Regions from separate parts of the Homo sapiens genome. Here all the other regions are linked to region 1. Evidence: promoter capture Hi-C in human tissues and cell types (Jung and others, 2019). All regions are on one chromosome and are shown on one strand. The core of a region is centred on a gene start or on the middle of the fragment in contact, and the rest is flanking DNA. Distances in the headings are between cores, read along the strand shown.

Region 1 (3,977 bases), core at 1,231-3,730:
AATTTGGATAAGGATATCAGTGCAGCTGAGATATAAGAGGGAAACAACATGAACTCTGGGTCCTAGAGTGTGATGCCAAAAGGTTCACCCATGTGTCCAGACCTCATATGGCATGCTGCTGTGGCTTGTTAGGGAGCTGGAACTTAAAGATTGAAAGACTGAAGTAGTTCGAATCCCATCAGTAGATGGTAGCAGAGAACCATGTCCCAGGAGGGAGTCTGAACAACACCACTTGGGCAGTCCAAGAGCAGGGTCCTTGGCATATCTTAAAACCCTGGAGGTCAGACCATGGAGTTCTAGAGACTGGCAATACCAAGCCAAAGTTGGGGTTGGCTCCTGAGAGTGCAGGGGAATGCTGTCACATAAGGCAAGACACTGCACGCAGCCTGGTTTTGTCTAGGCACCACACACATCCTCCTCCCTTAATGATGTCATTCATGTTCAAAGCTTTAACTACTTCCAGTTGTGTACCAATGACTCCTAAATTCACATTTCTAGCTCAGACCTTTTTCAACCTCTGTACTTCACACTCATACCCACCTGCCTGCTGGCCTTCTCTTCTCTTCTCTTTTTGTGATGGAGTCTCGCTCTGTTGCCCAGACTGGAGTGCAGTGGCGCAATCTCGGTTCACTGCAACCTCCGCCTCCCGGGTTCAAGTGATTCTCCTGCCTCAGCCTCCCAAGTAGCTGGAATTACAGGCGTGTGCCACCATGCCCGGCTAAGTTTTATATTTTTAGTAGAGACGGGGTTTCACCATGTTGGTCAGGCTGGTCTTGAACTCCTGACCTCAGGTGATCTGCCCTGCTTGGCCTCCCAAAGTGCTGAGATTACAGGAGTGAGCCACCGTGCTTGGCCCCTGCTGGTCATTTCTAACTGAGTGTTTCCACAGACAGCAAAACTGAACTTTGGGAATTATCCTAGTCTTTTCCTTTTCCCTTAGACTCCATCTTCAAATAGGCACCAATAACTCTATTTCCTATCTTCTAAATATTCCCCAAATGCATTCTCTCCTCTCCCTTCCAATTTTATTCAAGTTCTCATCATCTTCAGCCTTTGTGTAATAACTTTGCCCCTCTACTTCCATCCACAGCATTTTAATCCATTCACCCATTCTTTCATGGATTTATGTAACTTATACTTTTACAATGAGCCTAATCTGATGCTTTTACTGACCCGCTGTGCTAAGCTCTAGATTGAGTTGAGTCTAGGAGAGAGACCGATTAACCAACAATGGCAATACAAATAAATTGATGTTGTTCTGGGGTGAGTCTAGGATACGGTGGGGAGGGGGATATACCTAATTTATCCTGCAAGGATGTAGTCCTCCTTCCTGACCCAATCAGGATCTTTCTAAAGTGCAAGCCCAACAACTGGCACTTTGTGGCTTAAAAACATTCCATGACTCAGTCTAAAGGATTAAGTCCAAATTTCTTGGCCCTGGCATTCAAGGCCTGTCATCATTTTCAACACAGCCTGAGGATTCCTGCCTTAACTTTCCGTGCTCCCTACTTTACCCCCATGTTCCAGAGACGCTAGATATATCACTCCTTAAATGCATCAGAGCCTTTTTGAAGGGGATGTTTGGGAAGGGAATTAGGGGCAGAGGTAGGATTACAGGGAGGAAGATGACCAGAGTCAGCTAGAGAGAAAAGGGGCCTAAGAGTGGAGAACCAGAAGATGGGAGGTGAGGAAGGGGAAAGAGAAGGGGAGGAGGAAATTGGGTGGAGGAGGAGAGTAAGGATGAAAAGTACAGAATGTGGGCCAGGCATGGTGGCTCATGCCAGTAATCCCAGAATTTGGGAGGCCAAGGCGGGTGGATCACTTGAGGTCAGGAGTTCGAGACCAGCCTGGCCAACATGGTGAAACCCAGTCTCTACTAAAAATACAAAAATTAGCTGGGCATGGTGGCAGGCGCCTGTAGTCCCAGCTACTGGGGAGGCTGAAGCAAGCAAATCACTTGAACCTGGGAGGCGGAGGTTGCAGTGAGCCCAGATCGCACCACTGCACTCCAGCCTGGGGGACAGAGCGAGACTCTGTCTCAAACAACAACAACAACAACAACAACAACAACAACAACAACAACTACTACTACTACTACTACTACTACTACTACTACTACTACTACTACAACAATGTGAAGGGACTGAGGGGTGGGAGAAAGACAGATGTCTTTGAGGGAAGAGGGCAAGGGCCGTTGGAGAAACCACCTACCCTCTGGGCTTTGGCTTGGTTGTTACAAGTCCTTAGGTCAAGACCTTGACTTAGGATGGCAGGGGGAGGTGTTGATCCTCAGGGAGGAAAGGCTCTTGGTTGTGGATGTGCCTCAGCTGCAGGTGCTGAGTGTTGAAATGCCTTGCCTGAAAGTCTGCTATCTGGGAAGGGGACTTGGATATCTGCAGAACTTCGCAAAGGAGCTCTGGCATGACCTGGGGAAGTGGGTAGGGACAAGGGGTCTAGGGCCAATGAGGGAGGGTCTTGACTGAAGCCTCCGGAACCCGGGCCAGGAGAGTAGGCGCCGGTCACCAGGGCAACCGGAACGCCTAGTAGTCTCCGTGGCAACGGCGGTCTGGTCACCTCCCCGGTGGGTAAGGTCTCCTGAGGGGCTTGCATTGGGCCTCGAGGGGGCGAGCCCAGAGGGTTTACTTCTGAAAAGTGGGGTGTGTGTTGCGGGATCTCTGTGAGCGAGTGTTTGGGTAGGATCTGCGGAGATCTGTGCGTACGTCCGGGGGAGTCTGGGATTGTGAGGATAGGGTTCCTTTGAGACATCTGTGGGGCGGTCGTTGGGGGCTGTGAGGATCTGAGGGGACCTCGGGCTCTGTGCTTGGGGTGAGAAAGGCAGGGTCTCGGGTAGCTGAGGCGGGGGCGGAGTCTGTGTGTCCTCGAAGCCCAGCAGGACTAAGTTGGGGACCAATAGAGTAGGGCGGGGGCGGGCTTTACTGACAGGGACCAATCGAGCCGGCCGGGGGGCGGGGCGTCACGCCGACGTCAAGTCGAGGCCGCCGCCGCGGGGCCTGGTTATCGCCGGTTCAGCGCAGCCCGGAGTCGCCCAGGCCTGAACTCCTACCCAGGTCCCCGGCCCCCGCCCCGGGCCCGCGAGGACACCGGAGGCCACCCCCCGGGGGTGGGGAGCGGAGCCGCGGGCCAGCTCTGCGAGCGCCCCGCGCTGGCCTGTCCGGCCCCGCCCCCGCCCCGGGCCATGGCCCAGCCCTTGTCCCGGCCCCTCGTCCTATCCCAATCCCCGCCTTGGCCCCCAGCCCCGCCCTCGCCCCGCTTCCCACATCGGCCCCAGCCCCTGCCTGGGTCCCCATCCAGGACCCCCTTCCAGTCTCTGCCCCTGGCCTGGCCCCCATCCCGGCCTCGGCCCTCGTTCCACCCCCTGTCACAAATCCCAGCCCAGGCCCTGTCCCAGCCCCATTCCCAGTGTTTGCTTAAGGCCCTGGCTCAACCCCGTCCCTTGCTGCAGTCCCCATCACAGCCCTTCCTTCCATCCCACTCCCTGCCCTTGTTCAAGCCCCAGTGTCCAGCCCAGCCCAACCCATTATCTCAGCCTTTGCCCTCATCTCTGTGTTTACCCAAGTCTCTCCCTCTAGTCCCCCCTATCTCTCATACTCTGCCCCTCTCCCAGCCTAGACTCAAGTCTGGGTTTCAGCTGCCGCCAGCCCTATTGCTGCTGTTGCTGTTCTCTGTCCTTGGCCCAGGGGCTGGTGAGTGCAGAAGCAGGGAAGATTGAGGCAGGAATGGGGTTCCGGCAGGGAGGGGTGGGCTGGAGAGATTCAGGAGAGGTGGGACCTGGGGAACTAGATCATTGGGGAGCAAGTGGGAGAAATAGAGAGTAGAGAGGTCTTACACAACAGGGATTGGCAGGGTCAAAAGAGTGGTAATTAATTGGGTTTGAGGCTCAGCAGGTGGCTTACAGTTTCTAGCACAGAGACTCCAAGATTTTTTCTGGTGTCTGTCCTGACCCCACTTTGACTCTT
Region 2 (3,666 bases), core at 42-2,541, 83 kb after region 1:
TGACCCCTCCTCTCCACCTTCTCTGTGTCCAGGGAATCTGTGCTCACGTCTTCCAGGACAGTGCTTCTTCTAGAAGCTGACATGGAGCTGACCACAGCTCTTGGAGGCATGGCCTGAGGCTTAGAAAATAGACAGAGATCATCTGAGATTTCAGCAGTGGGGCCACGTGGCAGCGCCCGAAGGCCTGGAGCAGGAGCGACCCAGGGACTCAGAGCAGCATCTTCTTAGGAGACGGAAGGAGAGCCGCCGGAGGAGCACGGGGCACCTGCGATCGCGAAGAGCCTCCTGTTCTGGATGGGAGCGAAGGCTCCGAGAGGACCTAAGGTTGCTCAGTGGGCCATGGAAACGGCAGTGATTGGGGTGGTGGTGGTGCTGTTCGTGGTGACTGTGGCCATCACCTGCGTCCTCTGCTGCTTCAGCTGTGACTCAAGGGCCCAGGATCCTCAGGGGGGTCCTGGCCGCAGCTTCACGGTGGCCACGTTTCGCCAGGAAGCTTCTCTCTTCACGGGGCCTGTTCGCCATGCCCAGCCAGTGCCAAGTGCCCAGGACTTCTGGACCTTCATGTGACGCCCGAGTCCCCAGGATTTGCTGTGCTGATGGGTCAGACTCACCCGCTCCTCAGCAAGCCTTCCCTGGCCTTCCCCTCCTCCCAGGGCCTTCTCCCTGTCCTTCCCCTCCAGTAACCTGTGAACTTCCCGTCTCCTCCCATTCCAGCCTTCTGTGCCCTCCAGCCTCAGGGATCCTTGTTATTGGGACAGCCCAGCTGGGGTTGACCCACAGGATGGGGCTTAGGAGAGCTCTGAGGAGTGAGTGAACAGACAGCGCCGGAGTGCACGGTGGGCCGGCTCTGCTGATCTACACCAGGAACTGAAATATCACTGGAATTTATTGTAAACGGTGTGCCTATGATGCTGGTTCTGTTGCCACCTGGGCACGCAGCACCCTCAAGTGGACATTTCTAGAAACCGCTTCTTACTTGCTCCTAATTGATTACTTTTGCACATTGCACAGAACCCAACCTCGAGGCCTGCTCCCTGCCAGTTGCCTGAAATCAGCCCTGAAATTCTGAAACCAAAGAGCTGCTTCCTGAGAACAAGTTATTTACCTTAGAATTGAAAATGTATATCCTTTTATGGGCCTTTCCAAATCTGATTAGAAAAACCACAAAAGGAAACAGAAGAGAAAATAAGAGCCACAGAAAGTACAATATGTTTTATTAACAGGAAAGCCAGAAATAAGATATTTTAAACATATTTTTAATGAGACTTTATTGCTATATTCCAACAGGTCACTCCTATTCTTAGAGAATGTGAATGACTTGTGTCACTTCGGAGTGACAGAAAAATCAGGAACTGAAAGATAATTCCAGACAAGTTAAAATGTTATGTTACATTCAAAGCTCTTGTTTTCATCACAAATAAGGGGATATTCAGTTTTTATTAACAGAAAACCCATTCTCCCATGGCCATGGAATAAATGCCATGCTATATTTAAGGAGTTTGGTTTGAAGGGTGCAAAATTGTGAGCCTCCTGGCTCTTATGTCTGTATCCAGCCCTGAATAGATGGCTCTCCCAGGACCTGTTTGTTGAGGGGGGCAGGACTGAGCTTTAGGGGGGCTCTGGCCTCTAAGGGTGTCCAGACAGGCTGCCCTTGCCATGTGGCTGCCATGGGAAGGGCTTTCAGAGTGGCTTGGAGCTGGAGAGGTGCACGCGGGGAGGGGGAAGTGGTGGGGAGAGTGAGGCTGACGGAGAGGGATGGGGAGGAGCATGGTGGGCGAGGCTCAGCCCAGGTCCAGGAGCTCCTGGGACCATGTCCTGGACACTCCTGACACCAGCCCTCGACGCAGGGCCTTCAGAGATGCACAGAGAAGGGAACGGCACATGTGGGGAGGCCCTGGAGACGGAGGGAAGAGAACTTTTGAGGGCTGTGTTCTCTAAAAGCGAACAGTGAGACAAAGTTCGGGTGCAAGATATTTGTCAGGGATCAACACCTACAAAGGGGAGAAGGAAGAAGCAGGATTGGGCAGAGGAAGAAGTCAAACCGTGATGCAGGTCCTTCATATCCCCACCTTTGCTCCGTCTCTGAGTCCCTCTCCCCTCTCCCAGGGTCTGACCTCAGCCAGGGCAGCTCTCTGCAGCTGAGGCAGGTCTTGAAGCCCTTCCTATTTTATTATTTTTATTTTATTTTATTTTATTTTATTTTATTTTAGGAGATGGGATCTCACTCTGCCACCTGGGCCAGAGTGCAGTCGTGTGATCATAGGTCACTGCAGCCTCAAATTCCAGGGCTCAGTCAATCCTCCCACCTCCGCCTCCTGAGTGGCTGGGACTATAGGTGCATGCCACCGTGCCTAGCTAATTAAAAAATCCTTTTCTTGTAGAGATGGGATTTCACTATGTTTCCAAACCTGGTCTTGAACTCTCCTGGCCTCAAGTGATCCTCCCACCTTGGCCTCCCAAAATGTTGGGATTACAGGTGTGAGCCATTGCATTTGGCTGAAGTCCTTCCTTTGAAGGGGACCTGGGCAGCACATCTCCACAGAAACTCTGTAGGGTCCTGTTCTTGGAAGAGCCTAGACTGGTCAGAGGTGGGTGAATATGTCCAGACACAAAGAAAAACCTGGGCACAGGAGATCTATGAGAGGAGAGACGGCCGTGCAGGATCTGGAAGGGAGAAGAGTGGGCCTCAGTCTCCCTCTCTCCTCAGCCAGAGTCAGCTCTGCTCCAGCTCAGGCACCCTTCACCAGGAGCCAGGCCCAGGGCTCTGCTCTTGTACTGTGTGGTCACAGCACTCACTAGGTCAGTCCGGGAGGGTCTGCAGGCTGGAATCACAGGGCCGTGAAAACAAAGTGCTGGTGAAGCGGGCATGGGGAGGGAGCCTGGCCTCCCTCTGCAGGAGACAGGCTGTCTGCCAAGCCCGGCACGCTCTTCATTTGTTCACCTGCCCATCTGCCCATCCATCCACCCACCCATCCATCTACTCCTGGAGTAGATGCCGCCTCACTTACCCATGCATTCATTCACTTATTCATTCACTCCTCCGTTCAGTAAACACTGACTGGGCACTGACTGTGTACCCAGCCCGGCCAAGGGAACGTGGGGGTCAACTGGACATTTGGATCCCGTGGACTCCTAGATAAGGCTGTATGTGTGTGGTGTGTTTTATGTGGGTATGATGAGTATGTGGTGTGTGTGTAAGCTGTATATGTGTAGTGAGTGTGTGTGGTGTGTGTTTTTGTATTCTGTGATGTGTGTGTAAGCTGTATGTGTGTAGTGAGTGTGTGTGTTTTTGTTTGCTGTGGTGTGTGTGTAAGCTGTATGTGTGTAGTGAGTGTGTGTGTTTTTGTTTGCTGTGATGTGTGTGTAAGCTGTATGTGTGTAGTGAGTGTGTGTGTTTTTGTTTGCTGTGGTGTGTGTGTAAGCTGTATGTGTGTAGTGAGTGTGTGTGTTTTTGTTTGCTGTGGTGTGTGTGTAAGCTGTATGTGTGTAGTGTGTATTTTTTTATGCTGTGGTGTGTGTGTAAGCTGTATGTGTGTAGTGTGTGTGTTTTTGTATGCTGTAGTGTGTGTGTAAGTTGTATGTGTGTAGTGAGTGTGTGTGTTTTTGTTTGCTGTGGTGTGTGTGTAAGCTGTATGTGTGTAGTGTGTGTGTTTTTGTATGCTGTGG
Region 3 (3,635 bases), core at 930-3,429, 110 kb after region 1:
TCATTTTCATTTGTGCTATCCGTAATAAAAGTAGTACTTTTTATTTATAAAATGAAATTCATTTCTTTTTTTACCATGGTAAAATATACATAATGCAGCATTTACCATCTTAACCATCTTTCAGTGTATAGTTCAGTGGCATTAAGTCCATTCACGCTGTTGTGCAGCCATCACCACTACCTATCTCCAGGGCTTTTTTCATCTTTCCAAAGTGAAACTCTGTACCAACCAAATACTGTAATACTTCCCCACTTCCCCCTCCCCCTAGCCCCTGGTAACCACCATTCTACTTTCTGTTTCTATGAGTTTGAAAACTCTAGGTACCTCATATAAGTGGAATCATACAGTATTTGCTGTTTTGTGACTGGCTTATTTCGCTTAGCATAAAGTCCTCAAGGTTCGTCCATGTTGTAGCATGTGTCAGAATTTTCTACCTTTCAAGGCTGAATAACATTGCATCGTATGCATATAATAATTTTTACTTTAAGAATTCTTATTATTCTTAAAGTAAAATTCTTAAAATCTCAAAGACACATAAAAACACAGAGAATAGTATAATGGGCTCCCGGGTACCTGTTCTCCAGCTTCAACAAACTCGCTTTATCTGTACTTCCATCCACTCATCCCCTACCTTATCAAGCTAATTCCAGGAGTATTGTTTAATTTGCAAATATTTCAGGATGTATCTAAAAGATAAAGGCTCTTATTAAAAACATAACCACAATACCATTCTTAGGCCCCCAAACATTTCACAATAAGTCTGTAGTGTAATTAACTCTCAAGTCAGTGTCTAAATTCCTGTAGAGTTTTTTCATTTGATTGTATTTTTTTTTTAATTGTAACTAGCCATTTAAGCTTCCAAAGATCCGAGTGGTAGAGAGGGGTAGTTCGAAACCAAGATAAATGGAATTTGTACAAATCGGACTGCAGTTAAATTTCATGTTCTTGGAACAATCTTTTCAACAGTCTTTTCCTTGCCTGTCTGTTCCAGCCTGTCTGCTCACCTGTAAAAGCAACAAGAGTAGGTAGGAAAACAATTACTCCTTTGCAGTTGAGACACTCCAAAGATTAAGCCTGTTAATTATTTGTACTCTCTGTTCTGGATTTGGCTTCTTCTTACCCTCCTCCAGGAAAATTGAGTAATGCCTAGTTTTGAGATGGGTAAGAGGATTGTCTCTTGAATGTACGTGGAACTATTAACAGCAACTTGAAAATGAAAAGAATTATGACTGAAAAAGAAAGAAAAAAAATGAGTAAGAGATACTGGAGGACATTGTAAGATGGATCTAAGGATAAGGATAAAATAACAAGATTAGCCAGGGAATTTCTAGGACAACAGTTGGAAAATCATACCCTGGGTAAAGGATGTGAAAGAAGAGATTTGGGGCAGGAATTTTACCAACAATCTAAGATAAAACTTTCCTATCTTGTAATCATTATTGTTTTATGTTAAATTAGAGTTGCCAGATAAAACACAGGATGCTTAGTAAAATCTGAATTTCAGATAAACAATGAATACTTTTTAAACTATAGCTATGACACAAAGTATATAGACATGCTTATACTAAAAAAAGTATTGTTTGGCCGGGAGCGGTGGCTCACTCTTGTAATCCTAGCACTTTGGGAGGCCGAGGTGGGTGGATTACAAGGTCAGGAATTTGAGATCAGCCTGGCCAATATGGTGAAACCCCGTCTCTACTAAAATTACAAAAATTAGCTGGGCATGGTGGTGGGCGCCTGTAGTCCCAGGTACTCGGGAGGCTGAGGCAGGAGAATCACTTGAACCTGGGAAGCAGAGGTTGCAGTGAGCCAAGATCGTGCCACCGCACTCCAGCCTGGGTGACAGAGCGAGATTCCGCCTCAAAAAAAAAAGTATTGTTTATCTGAAATTGAAATTAAATTTGAGCAACCTGTATTCTTATTTGCTGAATCTGGCAAGTTCATATTAAATGCATGGTAGCCAGGCACGGTGACTTATGCCTGTAATCCCAGCACTTTGGGAGGCCGAGGCAGGCAGATCACCTGAAGTCAGGAGTTCAAGACCAGCCTGACCAACATGGTGAAACCTCATCTCTACAAAAATACAAAAAATTAGCCAGGCGTGATGGCGAGTGCCTGTAATCCCAGCCACCTGGGAGGCTGAGGCAGGAGAATCACTTGAACCTGCGTGGCAGAGGTTGCAGTGAGCTGAGATCGCGCCATTGCACTCCAGCTTGAGAGACAGAGTGAGACTCTATCTGAAAACAAACAAACAAACAAACAAATAAATACATAAATAAATAATAAAAAATTTAAAAAAATATTAAATGCATGGTGATTCAACTTGTAAAACCGAGGACTATTTGGCCTTTAGGCTCTTAGTTTTCTTTCTTGGGATATGATTGAGTTTTCCTTATTCAGTCTACTTTTCTTATATATCTATCTAACATTATAGCATTATATTTTAAAAATTGGCCCAGTTTACATTAGCACCAAGTATAAGTGTATAGTCATGCACTGCACAATGATATTTTGGTCAGTATGTATGTTTTGGTCAATGATGTGTGGTCTGCATATATGACAATGGTCCATAGTTTATGATTCCATATTTTTACTGTACCTTTTCTATGTTTAGATACACAAATACTTACCATTGTGTTACAATTGCCTACAGTGTCCAGTACAGTAACACACTGGACAGGTTTCTAGCTTAGCAGCCATAGGCCATGCCATATAGCTTAGGTATATATTAGGCTAGGTTCGTGCAAGTCCAGTCTGTGATGTTCCCACAATGATGAAATCGTCTAATGACGCATTTCTCAGAATGCATCTCAGTCTAAACAACGCATGACTCTACTTATTTTCTTCTACACTTAGCAATATTAGGTCTGATTAGTCTTTTCATTTTTGCTAACCTGCAGGGCAAAATGTTTGAGAGCTATTAGTTTAGAGCACTTCTTAAATGAGGCAAACTTTTCTCTTGTGATTCCTATAATCAAGGTTTTATTCAAAAATAATTTTAAATTTTATTCTATATTATAGGAATGTGTACAATGAAATGTAATGATGTATAATACATTGGCTGTTTTTGAATTCCAACCATGGATTTCCCAGCTACTGGCAGTGAAACTGATCTTTTCTGTACGTACTCAAGTCAACACTCAAGAATTTCAACTTACCTTTAGCGAAAGCAAATATTTATATTTAAAAAGAAAACATTTGAATTCAGAATTCATTAAGATAAAAAAGTTAGCAAACTACAGATGCCTTGTTAGTTGACAGTCCTAATGGCGACGTCTAGGTCAGATAACTTATATTGACTTAAAACAGCATTGTCTTGACTTTCCACAGTCGTATTTGTGATTATGGAAATAATTTTAAAAAGACTAGTCTCTTTAATTTACATTTTCACAAAACGCTGTTGAAAGAGCAAATGTCTGCTCAGTTGTTTTTCCTTTGCTTAAAAAAAAAAAAAGTGCCAGGAATCCCACCCCACCCTGCTGCTGGGTAACAGTCAATCATTTATTATTCCTGGATCAAACACAAGCATTCATGCCTATGAAAACGTTTGGCAATGAATGGGATCTTGGTCTCTACTAAAAACAAAAAATGGCTAAAAGGAGACTTCAATTTATGTTCAAATTCTATGGCTGAAT

Evidence for each region. Contacts are between HindIII fragments. The study calls those that stand out against the background at their distance.
Region 2: a fragment that was not itself captured here is called in contact with the fragment with the promoter of FAM221B in region 1 in 6 of the 25 tissues and cell types used here (H1 embryonic stem cells, aorta, bladder and 3 more).
Region 3: a fragment that was not itself captured here is called in contact with the fragment with the promoter of FAM221B in region 1 in 6 of the 25 tissues and cell types used here (H1 embryonic stem cells, IMR-90 fibroblasts, aorta and 3 more).

What each region holds. Positions count from the first base shown.
Region 1 is chr9:35,826,252-35,830,228 of GRCh38, forward strand. It overlaps FAM221B (family with sequence similarity 221 member B), which reads right to left and starts at 2,481. Exons shown (of 7, transcript NM_001012446.4): 1 at 2,212-2,481. It overlaps TMEM8B (transmembrane protein 8B), which reads left to right and starts at 2,977. Exons shown (of 13, transcript NM_001042590.4): 1 at 2,977-3,704. The coding sequence starts at 3,197. RefSeq lists enhancers at 1-205, 3,569-3,977 and a silencer at 2,834-3,283. The HindIII fragment of the contact is 23,285 bases long and covers 123-3,977 here.
Region 2 is chr9:35,910,125-35,913,790 of GRCh38, forward strand. It overlaps SPAAR (small regulatory polypeptide of amino acid response), which reads left to right. Exons shown (of 2, transcript NM_001348107.3): 2 at 33-1,562. The coding sequence starts at 340. The coding sequence ends at 567. Among named protein-coding and RNA genes, the nearest start is that of SPAAR, 2.5 kb to the left of the region's middle. RefSeq lists an enhancer at 38-918 and a silencer at 922-1,001. The HindIII fragment of the contact is 7,213 bases long and covers 1-3,666 here.
Region 3 is chr9:35,932,686-35,936,320 of GRCh38, forward strand. No RefSeq gene overlaps it. Among named protein-coding and RNA genes, the nearest start is that of OR2S2, 24 kb to the right of the region's middle. The HindIII fragment of the contact is 7,970 bases long and covers 1-3,635 here.